Linked DNA regions of Homo sapiens: region 1 is linked to region 2. Evidence: promoter capture Hi-C in human tissues and cell types (Jung and others, 2019). All regions are on one chromosome and are shown on one strand. Each heading gives the region's core, a stretch centred on a gene start or on the middle of the fragment in contact. The rest is flanking DNA. Distances are from core to core; before and after follow the strand shown. Region 1 has its middle 9.3 kb from the start of OR5D3. Region 2 holds the start of OR5L2 (olfactory receptor family 5 subfamily L member 2).

Region 1 (5,998 bases), core at 2,737-5,236, 93 kb before region 2:
TTACCATATTAGCAAAATAAGGGAGAAAAGCATATGTTTATTTCAATTTATAAAGATATTTATTCAAATTTATATCTTGTATTAGTCAAAATTCTCCAGAGAAATAGAACCAAGGGGATGGATATCTGCTTAGCTATATCTATATCTGTCCATAGAGAGGTATTTATTTATTTTAAAGAATTAGCTCATGCGATTATAAAGGCTGACAAATGCTGAGAACTTCAGGGTAAATTAGCAAGCTGGATCCCAGGGGAGCCAATGATGAAATTCTAGTCTAATTTGGAAGGCCCAAGAACTAGAGAGCCAGGGGTGTATTTCCAGTCAGAAGGTCAACAGTTTTGAGACCCATGAAGAGCTGATGTTCCAGTTTCAGTCTATAGGCAAACACCTAATGTCTCAGTTCAAAGGCAGAAAGAGGAAAGAATTTTCCTTTGCTTGGGAGAGAAGTAGCCTTTTGTTAGACTCAGGCATTTACTGATGGACGCGTCCCATCCCCATTAGCAAAGGCAATCTACTTTACTTAGGCTACTGATTGATTTAGTTGTTAATCTCATCCAAAAACACCCTTATAAAAACATCCATAATAATGTTTGACTGAATATCTGGGCACCCTGTGGCCCAGTTAATTGATGCATACAATTAACTTTTATGCACTTGTTCATAATAAAACAAAACAGAAGAAAACAAAAGCTCCCAGAAAAATAGAAATAGAAATGTCTTAATCTTTTACCTACCAAATCTGTAGGTAAATATCACAATTAAGGTTAAAATAATCGGCTAGGTGCAGTGGCTCCTGCCTGTAATCCCAGCAATTTGGGAGGCCGAGGTGGGCGGATCACAAAGTCGGGAGATTGAGACCATCCTGGCCAACATGGCAAAACTCCGTCTCTACTAAAAATACAAAAATTAGCTGGGCGTGGTGGTGTGTGCTTGTGATACCAGCTGCTCAGGAGGCTGAAGCAGGAGAATGGCTTGAACCAGGGAGTTGGAGGTTTCAGTGAGCCGAGATCGCACCACTGCACTCCAGCCTGGAGACAGAGTGAGACTCTGTCTCAAAAAAAAGCAAAACAAAATGAAAAAACAACAAAAAAGAGAAAAGAAATAATAGAAGCTTTGTTTTAAATTTCAACTCAAGAGAAGAATGTTCATTATTTCCACTTCTGTGGAAAGGTTGTTCTAGACAATTGAGTAAGACAGGAAAAAAAGAACATTAGTGAAGACAGAATAACACTTTCATGTTTTAAGATAATATAATTGTATGAACATCCAAATCCAAAAAGATCTATCAAAACCAATTAGAGTTAGTAAGGGAATGTAAAAGATCTCTCAATGTAAGATAATTAACATTTTTTTTCCTAGATCTGTGATATCTGTCTACATCCTTCCACATTGTATTAATCCCAGCATCCCTCAGCTTTAGAGATAGTAGTTCTTTTCTGCAGTAACCACTACTGTGGTATATTAAGGTTTTGTGGGGTTTTTGCCTTTTCATCAATTGTTTAACAATTGTAAAAATAATTTTTCTGTACTAAATGTTATGTTTTGAAATCCCTAGAAAAGATTGTGTTTTTCTCGAATAGACTCAGACTCTTGGTAATAATGTTCTCTGAACTAGACCTTCAAATATGGGTATCTAATCATACACTTGGCCGTGAAGACAGGGCTAAGCATCTTTAAAATAGAAATTGTATTCAGTAATCCATGGTGTATAGTAACGTGGCTAACTAAATAATCCTTTGTGCATGATTATAATGAAGTGCTCACTGAATCAAATGCCTGGAGGACTGAGGTGGGGGTTTCACAAAACTGTCATGGAAGTGGTGGTGATTACAAGAACTGGGATCTTCTGAATGCCTGGGAGAGCTTGCAAAAAGATAATAAAAATTCAGGGCATCCAAATGTTGGCATAATTTACTGTCAGAGAACTAGAGATATTTAAGACACTGGGCAAGTGTCCTCAATTTCTTAGTGAGAAACTGATGTGTCAGAGATGATGTCTTAAATAAATCCTATAAAAATACAAGTATTCTTAACATCAGAAAAGAATTCTTTTGATCTTGTGTTCTGCAGAATGTTGAGATATCCTCTCCAAAGCAAATGACAACTTAGGGCAATTTGTACTGCAATTAAGTGATTTAAAATGTACTGCGTCTTTCAGTTATGGAGGCAACACATATCACACTTGAGTAAGCTGTCGCAAACCATTCAAAAAGTAACCTTCAGCTTGCCTCTCTTGCATAATTCCTTACCAGACACTCTTATTGTCCCACCTCTATCTTTTGAATTTTACTCCCAGTGATTGTGGTAGTCAGCCATACATGGAACCCCCAATGATCCCATTCTCTGGTATTCACATCATTGTGGAGTCTCCTCCCATACTTTACCTGGCTTGGTCTGTGTGATGAATAGCATGTGGTAGGAATGAGAATACATAATACTTGAGGTTCAGTCTTAACAGTCTGGATTCTCTCTCTCTGTCTTTTTCCACCTACATTAGGTCTCTCATTCGGGAGGAAGTGGCCATATTTGAATAACCCTGTGAAGGGACCTTTGGGATGAGGAACCTAAGCTTCTGGCCAACAGCCTTCAAGGAACAAGAGGTGCCAGCAACCTTGTGAGTGAGCTTGGATGCAGAAGTTTGACATTGTTTAAGCCTTGAGATTACTGTAGCTCTGGAAGGCTGGTTGCAACCTCATGGGAGACTCTAAACTTGGAGCTAAGCTGCTCCTGGATTTCTGATGCATAGAAACCATGAGGTAATCAGTGTTTATTGTTTCAAACTGCGAAGTTTTGGGGATACTTTTTAGCTGTCAATGAATAATTAATGCAACTGTATTAGTCAGTTCTCACACTTCTATCAAGAACTACCTTGAGACTTGGTGATTTATGAAGAAAAGAGGTTTAATTGACATACAGTTCACAGGGTGTACAGGAGGCAGGTCTAAGGAGGCCTCAGGAAACTTTCAATCATGGCAGAAAGGTGAAGAGGAAGCAGGAATGTCTTCTCATGGCTGGCAGGAGAGACAGAGTAAAAGGGGAAGTGTACACACTTTAAACCACCAGATTTTCTGAGAACTCATTTACCATCAGGAGAACAGCAAGGGGGAAGTCCGCCTCTGTGAATCACCTACCAGGTCCCTCCTGCAACACTGAGGATCACAATCGACATGAGAGTTGGGTGGGGACGCAGAGTCAAACTATATCAGTGGATTTTTGGTGCCTGGGAATATATTGTTGCCAAATAAAAACCCAAGATGTTAAGGTGGCTTTGGAAATGAGCAGTCAGTTTTGAACAAAATATCATTGAAATCTTAATATGTTTTGGAGGTCTTTGATAAGATTACAGTTTAGAGATTCCAGGTGAGTGAGAAAAATATTATTGGAAGTTGTAGAAAGGAATATTCTTGTTATGTAGGGCAGATGTTTAGTAATGCTATTGCCTATAGTAATTTGAAAAGTACAAAATGTGCCTAATATTCTGGGTTATCTAACAACAGATATTTTCTAAGTGAAATGTTTAAAGTTCTACCTGGTTTCTCCTTGAAGATTAGAGTAAGGCATTAGAGGCAAGAAACAAACTAAATTATTAATGTTGAAAGATCCAGGATTTGATGGCTATGAAATCTCTTAGCCTCCCATAATGGGAAAAGTTGGCAAAATTAAGAAATGGTTTCCAAGGATGATCAAATCCATGGCATTGCTGTGAAAACATGATTTAAAGATGAAGTCTAGGATTTGACTATAAAATCTTAAAAAAAAATAGAAAAACCTCAGAAAGATCTAAAGTGGTATCTCAGAGTATATTCACACAAAAGACTCTCAAAAGAGATTAAAAGTGCTCCACCTCCTCTATCAACAACAAGGCTTTTAGGAACCTTAAGTGTGCCATCTCTGAGCCATCTCATAGAAGCCCAAGGTAGGGAAAGACTTATATCTAAAAGACTTAAGGATGTGTTTTTATCTCTAATATAGTGGAATTCAATAAGATTCATAGAAGATCCACAAAGTTCATTTATGTATATATGTGTACATGTATACACACACACACACATATATACACAAACACACACAGAGAGAGAGAGAGAGAGATCACTACCTTAAATTGAAAGACACAGTGACTGAAAAAAATTGAAAGGGGCCTATGAGTTATCAAAATTCTATTAGAAGAAAACAAGCTAAGAAACCTGCTAAGTTGCAAATATGTCCCACATTTCATGAGAAGAAAGGATGATTCAGACCGTGGTACCAAAAGTCCAGAGGTGAGAGCTAAGGAACCGAGACTAATTAGGCTAATTATTCCCAGATTTTGCAATTTAACCAAAGAAATTTCTAAATTTCCCTGGCTGGACTTCAGAATTCCAATGGATGAGTAATTCCTTTGCATATGTTGAACCAGAATGTTTATAGCAATATCTCTTACCAGTACCAACATTGTATGCTAGGTTTATAGAGTAACCGTTACTTGTCTCCTTAGTTTCATAGGTTGAGAGAAACTGGACTTGAGAACCTCTAATTAAGACAATACATCCATGGAGCTTCCTTTATATTTGGTCCTGATGGTGATTACATATTGTCAACTTTAACAAAATGCTGTGGTGGAATAAGGCATTTGGGCCCTTGGGAAGATTTGAGTGTTTTTTTTATGTGGCGAAGGGACAAGAGTCATTGTAGATCAGAAGGCATCATGTAGCATCCCCAAAATGGCACCCAATAATTTCTACTTTCTTGTAATGATCCATTTGTTTGAAAGGTCCCCAAGATCTGTTTTAATCAGGTATGGTAAAATATAGAGACATTGACATGATTGTGTTAAAAGAAAAATTTTATTATACTTACAGATCCCTAGAAAGAGGAGGCATGACATGTTCCACAGGGCTACACAAACAAGCACCAGGGTTGGTCCAGAAGTGGAAGGAGTGAGGGGAAATATGACAAGAATTTTTTTTTTGAGATGGAGTCTTGCTCTGTTCCCAGGCTGGAGTGCAACGGCACAATCTCAGCTCACTGCAATCTCTGCCTCCCAGGTTCAAGCGATTCTCCTGCCTCAGCCTCCAGAGTAGCTGGGATTACAGGTGCTTGCCACCACGCTAGGCTAATTTTGTGTATTTGTAGTAGAGTTGGGGTTTCACCATGTTGGCCATGCTGGTCTCAAACTTCTGACTCCAAGTGATCAGCCCACCTGGGCCTCCCAAAATTCTGGGATTACAGGCGTGAGCCACCGCGCCCGGTGAAATATGAGCAGGGATCTTTACAAAGGAACTGCTGAACGGACTTGCAATTGGCTAGCTTGAATAATTTCAGCAGGCCCTTGTGTCTAGAGGCTTTCCCTAGGTGTCTAGTGCCTGGCCCTAGGGATGATTTAGGAAGGAGGATAATGGCCCAGAGCATGAGTGCCTGGTAGAGGAGGTGACCTGAGCAGTGGTTGTGGATTTGTTAGTTTGCAACTCTAGGGTGAGTTGTTTATCGTCTCTAAGAATTGGCAGACCATGGGTGGGCCCATCCCTCCAGGGTTCACAAGGCCCAAGATGTCAAAGCATCAGAATATAGAACATAAAATACACGGTTAGTACCCTTGTGTAGTCCCCTCCTAGATTGGGTAACCAATAGCATACTGCAAAAGTGCCAGTGTGTCAATGGGAGATTGGCTCACAAAGGTCTCCAGCTTGTGTGTTCTCTTGAATCCCTCATCTGGAATAAGCAAATAGCCATGCTTTGATCTGCCCTTTTGAGAAGCATGGGAAGGAACCGAAGCTTCTGGTGAATAGCCAGTGAGGAACTGCCAATAATCATGGAAGTGAGTATAAAGGTGGAATCTCCAACCTTATTGAGCCATAAGTTTACCACAGTTCTGAAGAGACTTTCAGCCAGAACCACCCACCTCACCTGCTTCTGAATTCCTGATCTTCATAAATTATGGAAGAAAATAAATATTAGTTAAATAACTAAAATACTGTCCAATCTCTTACTGTCCAAATCATCATTGTTTTGCCTAAGGAAT
Region 2 (5,902 bases), core at 1,265-3,764:
TGATACCCATTTGATATCCCACAGAGATCAGTGATTGTTTTGGGAAGCTTATGAAACATGGGCCCCAGGGACACACACACACACACACACACACACACACACACACACACAAAATACAAAACACATAATATTTTTCATCATAGCATCTTCAGAAAGGAAAAGCAATGTCTTTCCAATAGGATGGTTGGTTGAACTACATTTTGTATTTTTTGGAATGAGCATAAACTATATTTTCTGGGGGCTGGAAGCCTGATGTGTTTTCCTCATGGAGGTAGCTTATTATAGTCATACACTCCAGAAGGGGAATTCAAAAGGATGGTAATGGTATTAGATAATTTTTAAGTCTGTGTTTTATCCCTCTCTTAATCAGATAATGTTTTTTTAAATGCCATGGTTTGAGCACTCCTTGATGACAATATTTTTCTCATTGTGTATTAGGGGACAATTTTGGTGGGAAGTGGGAACTATTTAATCTGTAAAACCAAACATCTTATAACAGCTATTAGTGTGAGATGTAAAGCAGTGTGAAGACATTGGCATAAGCACTTGTTTTCTCTATCCTTCCCTCTCTCCCCTCTATTACACTAACTCTGTCCATGCGACTTGGTTAAGACTGCATGGAGATTTTCCTAACAGTCATCCTAGTGCTGAGGGTGGCAGTAGGAGGCCCACGGGACTGTTCATGGAGGGACATGGACATGAGAACCACCTCTGAAGCAGAAAGAAGAGGAATTATTTTGTCTTTGTGCAAATCACTTTGAAATGTCTCTCTATGGCAGGTTTCTCAAATAAGGCACCATTAAAATGTTGGTCCAGATAATGTTTTGTTGTGTGTGCTGTGGGCAGGGACCTTCATGTGCTTTGTAGAGGTCATTGGAGAGTGTTTGGCAGCGTCCCCTCTACATGTCAATAGCACCCCCTTCCTCTTGTAACAACCAAAAATGTCTCCAGACATTGACAAATATTCCACTGGGATTCAAGTCACTCCTGACAAAGAAACACTGCTCTATGGGCAATTAACAGCTTGATTTTTTTCTTTATATTTGAAAACAGGAAGGGGTTTTTGAAAGTATGTACTAGTTTGATCTTGGGGAAGGACATGTAACATACTTCTCCTGGTCATTTTAAGAGAGAAAATCTTATCTTCAGAACATTTTAGTAATTTTCAATCTAGCATTTAGTTATATGCCTCCTGTATATCTTTGAAATCAGTTGAAGAATGGGAAAAATACCTGGCTCTGTTGGTCTCCAGTCCAGATTCTTTTCTGCCCAGAGTGCTCAGCTCGTGCCTCTACAATGATGTGTGCATCTATCAAGGGTCAGGGAGAGAGAATAGGAAGCTTCTCACCCTCACTTTACACTTGCTGTGTGTTGAAGATTTGGAAAGTATGTGTCCCTAATTTTAAAAATTCCATCCTTTTCCCCCATTCCACTCCATCATAATGATGTTTTGTGAGGAATCAGGTAAGTTTATCTATTTTTTTGAAATAAATATTTATGCTCATTGATGTTGCACAGATTAAATATATGATGCAGCTTATGTGTGTGAGTAGAATAAATACATATATTTATATTATACATTATTATATAACATTCTTTATGTTCAATCTGACTGTATTATAACTTTCCATTTTATCATTTATCGCAGTCTTATCCTTTTTATAACTGCAAGCATTTCCATTATATATACTACATTTGTGACCACGTCTCTTATTTTATATTTTATTTCTAACTTTTAATATTACAAATAATAGTTCAATGCAGTAGTGGGTGTTTTTCTTAATCATTTTCTATGCACATCTTTGATCAATTCTTCAAATAGATTGAAAGCAGTAAATTTATTTAACAAATAAATGTTTTAGGACTGAACAGTCATAGTTACAATAAGTTGTGCTCAAGAGTACCAATTCCCTGAACCATGGCCAACATTGAAGAGTGTAATTAACCAAATCACCAGGCTAATTTTATAGAAAAAAAGATAATACACACAATAAAATGAGCTTCTTCATCTAAAATATATCAATAAAATATAAACACTTGTGAATTAACATCTTAATTAAGTATATCTCCCCATCACTGTAGTGGAAAATTCAGAGAGGGGTACCATATATTCTAAGCATTATTTTCTAGGATCTCAATATTTGGAGTAAGCTAGGAAAAGGGGATTTGATTTTGATATAATCATAAGGCAAATTAAACAACTTTACCTCTTTCCTAATGATTCTGTGCCAATGTCTCAACTGAGAAAGATTAATTAAAAGAATTCTATAAGTTTTTTAAATGCCAATGTTTTTGTTTGATCTTTGAATTAAACTGTATGTTTTATGCATTTGTATTATACAATGTTGAACTTTTTCAGATTTCCCAAAATTTCTGTTCTTTGCTGATAAAAATTAGCTATCCTACTTCTTCTGATATCTTTTTACAGGATACACCCAAAACTAAAATTTAGACTATATAATGGAGAATAAGTTTTAGGTTTTTTTCTCCTCTAATCCTGCATAAATTGGAGACATGGGCAAGGAAAACTGCACCACTGTGGCTGAGTTCATTCTCCTTGGACTATCAGATGTCCCTGAGTTGAGAGTCTGCCTCTTCCTGCTGTTCCTTCTCATCTATGGAGTCACGTTGTTAGCCAATCTGGGCATGACTGCACTGATTCAGGTCAGCTCTCGGCTCCACACCCCCGTGTACTTTTTCCTCAGCCACTTGTCCTTTGTAGATTTCTGCTACTCCTCAATAATTGTGCCAAAGATGTTGGCTAATATCTTTAACAAGGACAAAGCCATCTCCTTCCTAGGGTGCATGGTGCAATTCTACTTGTTTTGCACATGTGGAGTCACTGAGGTCTTCCTGCTGGCCGTGATGGCCTATGACCGCTTTGTGGCCATCTGTAACCCCCTGCTGTACATGGTGACCATGTCTCAGAAGCTGCGTGTGGAGCTGACCTCTTGCTGCTACTTCTGTGGGACGGTGTGTTCTCTGATTCACTCGTCCTTAGCTCTTAGGATCCTCTTCTATAGATCTAATGTGATTAACCACTTCTTCTGTGATCTACCCCCTCTCCTAAGTCTTGCTTGCTCTGATGTCACTGTGAATGAGACACTGCTGTTCCTGGTGGCCACTTTGAATGAGAGTGTTACCATCATGATCATCCTCACCTCCTACCTGCTAATTCTCACCACTATCCTGAAGATACACTCTGCAGAGAGCAGGCACAAAGCTTTCTCCACCTGTGCCTCCCACCTCACAGCCATCACTGTCTCCCATGGAACAATCCTTTACATTTATTGCAGGCCGAGTTCAGGCAACAGTGGAGATGTTGACAAAGTGGCCACCGTGTTCTACACAGTTGTGATTCCCATGCTGAACCCCCTGATCTACAGCCTGAGAAATAAGGATGTGAACAAAGCTCTCAGAAAAGTGATGGGCTCCAAAATTCACTCCTAGGGAAGATTTTATTCACAGAATTCAGGATCCCCAAGTTGTGGCAAGTGAAGGTTCGTAGGAGGGGTGCAGTGTTGGAGTAGAGAGAAGAAGGAGCTCAGTAGTTATGAGGGATCCTTTTTTGATTCACTTATCTTTGTTTCTCTTAAATTTAAACTAATAGGATTGAACATATTTCAAAATTTGCAGCCAACTTTTATAAAAATAAATTTGTGATGTTTTAAATGGATATGAGCCACAACATTATTAAGATACAAACATTTAGTTTTCTGTAAAACCTTCACAAATCTAGTGAAGAACTCAGAGGAGTTACACTTTATTTCAGTATCCATTTATGGAAACTATGATTCTTTTACAAATAAAATTTCCATTATTTATAATGACGATTACACCATCGTCAAAGTGTGTACAGAATGAGAATTCCATATATCTATGCATATATATGTGTTTGTCATTGTTTGATTTTTTATGTTTCTTGTTTTATTCTTCATTATTTTGTTTCTGCTGTTGCAGTGTACAATGTCATTGAAATTTTGGGTACTATGTGATTTGATAGATGACGAAAATAATAATTGCAGCGGACTCTAGGGAAATTGCATTAAGGAAGCTGGAATCACATAAAAAGAGCTTAGAATAATCCCTGGAACATAATTATTAGTTGTCTCTCTCTCTACCTACATTACGCACACACACACACACACACACACACACACACACACATATATAATATAAATATGTACAGATAATAATTTAGAACCATTGTTATGAATCACAGCATTTCTGAATTAACCCTCTTCTCTCACTTTATCTTTACTGCTTATCTTCATACTAACCCTAAAATCTATTGATGAAGAGATGCTTACTGACACTTATGACTTTTAACCTCTGCTCATGTTCTTTGCATGTGTTCTTTTTTTTTTGGCTTAACTTTCTTTTATTGTATTCTTTCCATATGTACCTAAACCACATTTCTTAATTCCCTGTTGAATTATATGCACCATTAATGCTTTATTTGTGATTCCATTACGACTTATGTCAATTTCCTCATTTTATTTACTTGTTTAAATTAAACTTCTCTCTTTGTGTCTGTAATAATATTAGAAAAGCAATAGGTTTGAGTTTTTCAAAACCGAGATTGGTGTTTTGACCCTGGTTTTTTAATTTGTCAAGTAATTTAACTTATTTGGTCCTCAGTTTCCTTTGTTTTAGCATTGGATAATAGTTTTAACCTCATGGAATTTTATTGAGATTAAAATTTCATAGCATATGTGTACTTACTGACATCAGGAAGAGACTCAGTGTATATCTAAATGAAGTCATTGAAGCTTGGGGTTTATTTAACTTTTTATCTACTTCATCATCAGTGGCATATGAGAAGTTTTTAAAAAATCTTTTATTTTTATGAAATGCATGGATGAGTAGATATTGGTGAATTTATGGTAAGCATATTGGGATTACTATGCAGATTACATTTCGAGAGACTTCAAGAACTGTGAGTTGGTCCACATTGTCACGAATGTTCTAGCAGTCATGGTCTACTTAGGAAAACAAATGCTCTGCAGGATCTAATTCATGAAATGTTAGCGATTAGAGGCTCAAAAGAGCACACAGGAGATGCTGTATTATTTAAAGATTGTTGACTTTAGGAAGTAACTATTGCTCTTGATATTAGAGGGCAATAGGGAAGAAACATTGTCCCCAGAACCTCAGAGCTTCGTGGAAGCAGCTCAGTCCGCCGGTGTTAATCCCTTGAGGAAGAGACATAACGCTTAGTGTGTCAGGGCCTCTGAGGCTGGGTTAGGACTCAGCAGATTTCCAGTGTCCTGTGGCACGCTCAGACATGGTCCAAAGAAGGCTGTGCTAGATGGCTGCTCCTGCCTCTGAAGAGGTTATCATGGAAAGCTGGAACACACCAAGTATCCACTGTGGCTAGATTCACACTAAGAGAAACTGGAAAATCAAGAAGAGATGTTCTTCTTCTCTCTTTTCCATTTCCTTCTCATCTTCCCTTCTCCCCCTCCTCCCCTTACCCCCTTACTTCCTCTGGCGGATCTAAAAGGAAGGCAGCTAGATAGGACATCTGGGGAATACAGTTTGCAAGCCCCAGCAGCAAGATCACAGCATAAGGACTAGGAGAGTGGACATGAAAATGAGACTAGGTTCAACAAACACAGCTTCTGAGGGACTTGCGGTGTACAATGCACAGGGTACAAGGAAAACCCTCTTCTCCTATTACCTAGAGTGTGTACATCTTTCTGTATCTGAACACTTCAGTAAAAATCAAGATTCTTAGTTTTGATCTCTTTATATTAATTATAAATGCAATTGATTCTTGGTAAAATTGGTAGAACAAATGCAACACAAGGCTGTGGTCACCCTTTAAGATCTGGGGAACAAATTTCCATGGTGCCAAATCACATATTTAATCTAATAATTTTTCCCACAATTTCTGTAT

Evidence for each region. Contacts are between HindIII fragments. The study calls those that stand out against the background at their distance.
Region 1: a fragment that was not itself captured here is called in contact with the fragment with the promoter of OR5L2 in region 2 in 3 of the 25 tissues and cell types used here (adrenal gland, aorta and pancreas).

The regions. Positions count from the first base shown.
Region 1 is chr11:55,730,077-55,736,074 of GRCh38, forward strand. No RefSeq gene overlaps it. Among named protein-coding and RNA genes, the nearest start is that of OR5D3, 9.3 kb to the left of the region's middle. The HindIII fragment of the contact is 4,292 bases long and covers 1,841-5,998 here.
Region 2 is chr11:55,824,705-55,830,606 of GRCh38, forward strand. It overlaps OR5L2 (olfactory receptor family 5 subfamily L member 2), which reads left to right and starts at 2,515. Exons shown (of 1, transcript NM_001004739.1): 1 at 2,515-3,450. The coding sequence starts at 2,515. The coding sequence ends at 3,450. The HindIII fragment of the contact is 3,304 bases long and covers 694-3,997 here.